Regions from separate parts of the Homo sapiens genome. Here region 1 is linked to region 2. The links are contacts of gene promoters, found by promoter capture Hi-C in blood cells and fetal thymus (Javierre and others, 2016). All regions are on one chromosome and are shown on one strand. Each heading gives the region's core, a stretch centred on a gene start or on the middle of the fragment in contact. The rest is flanking DNA. Distances are from core to core; before and after follow the strand shown. Region 1 overlaps BORA (BORA aurora kinase A activator). Region 2 holds the start of MYCBP2-AS1 (MYCBP2 antisense RNA 1).

Evidence for each region. The method cuts DNA at HindIII sites, captures the fragments that hold promoters and counts their contacts. A CHiCAGO score of 5 or more calls a contact.
Region 1: a contact is called between a fragment that was not itself captured here and the fragment with the promoter of MYCBP2-AS1 in region 2, in 1 of 17 cell types (naive CD4 T cells). The highest score is 5.9, in naive CD4 T cells.

Annotation. Positions count from the first base shown.
Region 1 is chr13:72,752,372-72,756,001 of GRCh38, reverse strand. BORA (BORA aurora kinase A activator) reads right to left here. Exons shown (of 12, transcript NM_024808.5): 11 at 2,181-2,312; 12 at 1-851. The coding sequence ends at 786. It overlaps DIS3 (DIS3 exosome endoribonuclease and 3''-5'' exoribonuclease), which reads left to right. Exons shown (of 21, transcript NM_014953.5): 21 at 1-3,630. Among named protein-coding and RNA genes, the nearest start is that of BORA, 26 kb to the right of the region's middle. The HindIII fragment of the contact is 1,400 bases long and covers 760-2,159 here.
Region 2 is chr13:77,073,485-77,077,142 of GRCh38, reverse strand. It overlaps MYCBP2-AS1 (MYCBP2 antisense RNA 1), which reads right to left and starts at 1,629. Exons shown (of 4, transcript NR_046716.1): 1 at 1,559-1,629; 2 at 210-327. It overlaps MYCBP2 (MYC binding protein 2), which reads left to right. Exons shown (of 83, transcript NM_015057.5): 68 at 294-392. The HindIII fragment of the contact is 1,677 bases long and covers 1,420-3,096 here.

The DNA of each region.
Region 1 (3,630 bases), core at 210-2,709, 4.3 Mb after region 2:
ATGCCCTACGGGAACTCCACTCTCCCAGCCCCACTTTTTCTCTTGGTTCTCCCACATTCTTATTCTCCCACATCCCTACCCACGTTTGAGCTGGAAAGGATGTCCCTACCCTAGGCATGAGGTATATTTTATTCTGGGCACCACACATTTGCCCCATAGATAACAATACACGTGATGATGTCACTAGTACTACCTTTCTAGTATTTACATACTTAAAAGTAGTAACTAGAACAGTTATCACTGGAACTAAGAATTTTCCCCACAGAGGTGAACAGACCAAGAACTAAAATTTCAGGAAACCTGTTTAATTTCTTTTGTATCTTTGAAAAGTTAGTTTTATATCTAAGATTTCTTCACATAGGTTATAATTCATCTGTATGTTCAAGCTTTTATGTAAAAATATATAGTGCCTTCAGTTTTAACATAGTTTCACATGTTCTCAGAACTGCTAAATTCAGTGCTACCAGTAAGGCTTAATAAGTAGTTCATTGACCCTGTAAGATAGGAGCACTCAGCTCTGTCACAATTTGTTGTTAAACACATCACTCAATGTAAGTATAAAAATATTTATTGATAAAAAATAAACTTATAATTCAGCAACTTGAAGTTCCAGGAGCATTTCTGTTGTTCCTATGTCAGTAAGCCCTTGATTTTTCACATTAAGGAGGGAAAGCTAAGCATGTTACTTGAAGTAATTTTTTCCCAGTCACCATCATGTTGATCCTGTGCACAACGATATATGCGAGGAACTCTTAAGCTTAGTCTTTGATTCTGACAGAGGCATTCTATGGACTGCTGCATTGAAAAGGGCTTGCTGTTTTCATCCAACACCTCTGTGTTGTGTGGTCTTGCTGTGAAAAAGAAGACAATACCTTGTTTTCAGTTTAAGTAGGACCACTGGAGGATGCAATTATCGGGACTGTTTTTAAAACCTAAAAGCACGTTTCTTTAGCTGAACTCTGAAGGGACAGTAAAGATACAGTATTTTATAAATCAATATTCTGCATCAAAAAGCATCCCAACACTTTGAGAGGCCAAGGTGGGAGGATCGCACGAGCCCAGGAGTTTGGGACTAGCCCTGGCAACATAGTGAGACCCTGTCTCTACCAAAAATTTTAAAAAGCTGGGTGTGGTGGCACATGCCTGTAGCCCTAGCTACTCAGGAGGCTGAGGTGGTAAGACTGCTTGAGTCTGGGAGGTGAAGGCTACAGTGAGCTGTGGTCGTGCCACTACACTCTAGCCTGGGTGACAGAATGAGACCTTGTCTCAAAAAAAATAAAATAATAAAATTTAAAAAAATCCTTCATTTATCTCTACTTATGTTTAGATAGACAACTGCATCCTGAAATAGGATGGATTTTGTTCAGGTTAATATTAGAAGAGACCTGCTCTGATACTACATACAACAGAAAGGCAGTTTGCTCCTACTACATACAACAGAAAGGAAAACTAAGGTGGCCTCCCTATTAAACATTTGTTGCACATTTGCTGATATTTATAGTATTTTATAAGAAACTGGCATATAACAGCAGGGCAAGGTGGTTCACACCTGTAGTTCTAGCTACTCAGGAGGGTGAGGCAGGAGGATTGCTTGAGCCCAGCAGTTAAAGGCTGTAGTGATCTGATTCTACGACTGCACTCCAGCCCGGGTGACAGAGTAAGACCCTGTCTCAAAAAAAAAAAAAAAGAAAAAAAAGAAACGGCATACAAGGCTGGGCATGTTGGCTCATGCCTGTAATCGCGCAGCACTTTGCGAGGCTGAGGCAGAAAGACTGCTTGACACCAGGAGTTTGAGACCAGCCTGGGCAACACAGCAGGCCCTGTCTCTACAAAAAAATAAAATGCAAAAAAAATTGGCACATAAAATTAAAGACTGTCCTGACTAGTGCCTGAAATTATGATGAGTTTCTTCAAGTATGAATATATAACCACCACCTGGAAGGTTCAGTAAATGCCCTCATCAAATACACGCTACCTTTGCACACTTTGTAGTATGTAAGATACTTGTGTATTCAGAGTAACCAAAATATTTAAAGGTTATTGGATGTTAAGAAAACAGGCTTACCTTTTAGTGTTTTAAATTTCATATAGTTTCTCAATAGTACTATTGTCTAATAATCAAAATTATTTTATATTTCTAATCTAAACAATATTAAGCTTTCACTATATTTTCTCCGTACCTTCATATTAAATGCTTGAGATTTACTCTCAACTTCACATGTTTGTGCATCACTTTCTTTGCAGTAACTTTCTGCCCCAACTGTATCCATAATATTGCTTCCACAATTCTGCGTATTATAGCCACTATCCATCTGACAGGAGAAAAAAGAAAAAAATATATTGTGAGGAACTTAAAAGTCAAATATTTAAATAAGTAAACCACTATAAACTCTCATTCACTACATCTGAATGATCCTAACATGTAATATTGATCATGTTGAACAAAATTCAAAAGTAATGCACAAATATAAAAGGTAGTCCTGCATAGTACTGATTATTGTAGTCATTTTACAATTCCTTCCAATGAAATATATCTTGTAACTTCCTTAAGAATCAGTGAACAGCCTACTGACACAATGCTTTCCTGTTATTTTGTGATCGTACCTAGTAGACAAAAATGAGTATTACAACTAACTTCACCTTCCAACGCATTTTCCAGGCTTGTCTCTAAATGGCTTGAGGCATGCTGCCTTTAAAAAAGTGGATTATATTATATTTACACCTAGTTGTTCACAATAATGCCACATATATAATGGCTCTAGATGTTAGTTCAGCTTTTCATGTTAATAAAAATTGTAGCATCCTAAGATACACTGTTTCAGTGCAAAAGAGCAAAAAAGAAAGATTCTAGCGAACTTCCAGCTTGGAAACATTTATTGAGTGTCTAAAAAGGCCAGGCACTATCTCTATATATTTAATATTTTTTTCTCCTTTCAACAACCCTAATACTTTACTAGAGAAGGAAATTAAGGCTTAAAAAGCTTAACTTTCACAATGTCATCCAGTGATGAGGTGATGAAGATGTGAGACCTAAGTCCAGGTTCTGTTCACTGCACAACGCTCCATTTACCTGTATAATGCTGAGCACCAAAGAAAGCAATCCACAAGGGAATCATTTTGCATTTAAGCCCTCCCTGCAAGTTAGGATCAGAGGGAAGGAAAAAGCTGACTGTCATTTTGTTTCCCTCACAAAGGTACAGACTAGCCTAGAAACGGCACTCTTTATCACTTAATAATCCTGAAAAAATGTTCCCAGATTTCAAGGCTGGATACATATCTGCTTACTACTAGAGGTCATGTTCCAATTAGAACAAAAGCCTTGTGATGTGTAACATTTTTGGGGAAAAGCCTTGTTCTGCTATCATTCAATAGCTACTTGATCAAAAATATAAATGTCAGATTGCTCCCAGAGATTCTGCCAATAGCTCTTCCTTCTAATATTCATCACTGCCAAATAGCTGGCTTATAATGCAATACTAATATGTAACTGGATATATATGGAGGGAAGAGTTACTCATTAGTACAGCAGGAAGTAAGGCATGCGGGGAGTTTGTCCCACACTATGGGAAGAGCAGGATTGATGAGAGCCAAGTTGAGATGGTGGCTGACTTCACTGTCTCTCATCTAGAC
Region 2 (3,658 bases), core at 380-2,879:
TGTCCTTACAACATATTCTAGCACAGGATAATTGATGTAATATATTTTAAGAGTGTAACAAAATATTTTGTGAAACTTATTACAGAAATTTCTGGCTATAAATGTTGCCCATTTTTTCTTTTCATAGCCCTAAACACCTGAGTTCCATGTTGCATTTGTAATTAAGAAAAATAGTGGTGTATATTAGCAAGAGTAGCATATTATAAAACCTGCGGAATCAGCTAATGAGTCCTCTGGCCAATATAGTGTTAATGCCTGTCATTAATTCCTTCTCACATGCATATCTTCATCAGGTATTTGGAAAGCTCATCTCTGGAGATGCTGAACCTACACCAGAACAAGAGGAAAAAGCACTATTGTCATCACCTGAAGGAGAAGAAAAAGTATACAATGTATTTATTTGTATTCTAAAGATATTTATTTCCCTTTTTTATTCTTTTTTTCAGTGAAATAATTCATTTATTGCTGTATATTTTGATGGATATGTAATAACAGTTTTATGCAGTTCATATTTGTTCTTAGAAAGATGAAGGAACTATCTAAAAGAAATTCATTATTCATGTATAATCTAGCTAGTATTTTAAGTAACAGCAAATTTGCTCTATACCTTGGGTTTTTGCATTCATTTGTAATCATTTCTGTGCTATACCCCATCAGTTATCTTCTCCCTCCTCCATTGTCCCTGTCCTTCACAGTTCAGCTCAAAAGTACTGTCTTCTTCATGAAACTTTTTTACGATTTATCCTCTTCATGAAATTTGTTTATGATTTCCCCAAACAAAAGCAGTTTTCTCTCTGCTGGAGTTCATAATAATCTGTATGTGTCTCTTCTTCATTTTTCTCTTATGTTTATCTACATGGATGTTTTCTCTCTTCTACTGAACCATAGCTTCTTAAAGACCAAGTCCATGTCTAATTTGTCTTTGTATCCATCATGGTAGCATCACACACATGTTTAGTAAATTTTTATTAGAATAACTACTCTTTGTTACTGTTCTTGAAATTTCTTGCAAAAATACAGTTGCTTTACTTTTTCGGTCCTGACTAAAACACTATACCTAAAACTTTTGTACTTCATCCATTTGCAAAAAGAGAAGTCAACTCTGACTAGTCTCAATATTCTAGTGTCTTTAAATGCTACAAATAATCACCTTGGCAGCCCTTTGAAAGATAAATTTCAAGGATTTCCCTTGTCTCACCCTGTGTTTCTTAATACAGTAGTATCTAATCATTGTCCTGTTTTTGTTTGAGGTCTGAAAAAAATAAGATTTCTTAAATGCTGGTAACTTCTTTCAACATCTTTTGGAGATTTCATTTGAATGACTACAAGACTGTGTAACTACCTGTTAAGTCAATTGAATTTTAGCAGATGTCAACTCTGTACTAAACAATTGTGAGAATGGCAAGCCCTCAAAAAGCTTGCATTCTGTTCTTGGTTATGAACCCTCTGCATTCCCCTCACCCCCCCCAAAAAGAAATCAACAAAGATACTATATAGTATAAAAGCAAGTTATTAAATGTGTGAAAAAAATTGCAGATGACATTGGCTTTCAGAGTACCTTGAGATCATTGTGCCCTGGAGTGGTCAGAGAAGGCTTCTTAGGGGATATTGGACTGGAGTTAGATCTGAAAGAGAATGAAGGGATTCAAATGAGATTAGTAGAGAGAATGGGAGCAAGGACTGATCAGAGAGACTGGCCTAAGGGTGGGAGAGTGTATGCTGAGGAGTTAAGGTTGAGTAGGAAAGGTTATACTGTCATGTGTGTGCCCATGAAATAACATGATTTTTAAGAGAATCTTTTTTTAAGTTAGATTATTGAAGCACAATTTACATACAGAAATTCCTCATTTTAAACTGTATCATTCAATGAATTTTTACTTGTGTACACTAGTGAAATCATTATCACAATCAAGTTTGTTTTGTTTTGTTTTGCTTGAGACCGGGTCTCTCTCTGTCATCCAGGATAGAGTGCAGTGGTATGATCACGGCTCACTGCAACCTCAACCTCCCGGGCTCAATGGATCCTCCTGTCTCAGCCTCCCAAGTAGCTGGAACTACAGGTGCACGTCACCGTGCCCAGCTGATTTTAATATATCTGCAGAGATGTGGTTTTGCCATGTTGCCCAGGCTGGTCTCAGACTCCTGGGCTCAAGCAGTCTGCCAGCATTGGCCTCCCAAAGTGCTGAGATTACAGATATGAGCCACCATGCCCAGCCCACAACCAAGTTTTAAAACACATCACTCCCCAAATTTCTCTCATGTTCCTTTGCAGGCAATCCCCCAACCTCACACTTAGAGCCTAGCAACTACTGAACTATATTCTGCCAGTGTTGTGTTGCCTTTTCCTGGATGTCATATAAATGGAACCACTCAGAATGTAGCCTTTTTGTCTTGTTTCTTTCACTTTAGTGTAATGCTTTTGAGATTTATCCATGTTGTAGCATGTAGCCATGGTTCATTCTTTTGGTTGCTGAGAAGTGTTCCATTATATGGATTTACCGTAATTTGTTTATCCTTTCATTTTTTGATGGATATTTGGGTTGTTTCTGCTGTTTGGCTACTATTAGTAAAGCTGCTGTGAACACTCACATACAGATCTTTGCAGGTCTTTTACCAATTATGTGTTTTCAAATATTTTCTCCTAGTCTGTGTCTTATCTTTCAGAGAACAGAAGTTTTTAAGTTTGATAAAGTCCAGTTTTTTCTTGTTTTTTTGATTCATGATTTTTATGTATGGTCTAGAACCCAAGGTCACACAGATATTCTCTTCTTTTCCTTTAGAAATGTTATAGTTTTAGTTCTTTTCTTTAGAACTGTATACATTTTAATTTTTATGTGCAGTGTAAGAATTGAGGCTTATCTTTTGCATATAGATGTTCAATTGTTCTACTACGATTCATTGAGAAGACTATCATTTATCAATAGTCAATTTACCATAAATGGTAGGTCTGTTTCTGGACTCTATTCTGCTCCATTGATCCATCAAAGTGTCTTACTTACTGTAGCTTTATAAAAAGTCTTGATATCAGGTTCTAACTTTGTTCTTTATCTAAGTTATTTTGGCTATTCTAGATCTCTTGCATTTCCATATAAAGCTTAGAATCAGCTTGACCGTTTCTTTAAAAAAAAAAGGGGGGGGGGCGGTGGGGATGGAATTTTGACTGGAATTAACACCAAATTGATAGTTTAGGGAGAATCGCCATGTCAATAATATTGAGTCTTCGTATCTGTGAACATGATATGTATCAGGGGTTTTCTTACATCTGTTTAAAATTTCTCTCAGCAGTGTTTTGTAATTCATTGTACACATCTTGTACATATTTTATTAAATTTATTCCTAAACATTTAACATTTGTAAAGCTATTGTAAATGGTATTTTTTATTTCACTTTCCAATTGTTCATTTCTAGTGTATAAAAATAGAATTGACTTTTGTATATTAGATTTCTACCCTGTGATCTTAAATTCACTTACTAATTTCAGAAACTTTTTATAGACTCTTTGGGGTTTTCTTAGATAATCATGTAGTCTTCAATAAATTTGGGTTTTTTCCTTTCTAAACTATATGCCTTAAATTTCTTTTCTTATATTATTGTGTTATTGCATTGATTAAGCCCTTAAGCGCCATGCTGAATAGAAGTAATGAGAACAGATAGCTCT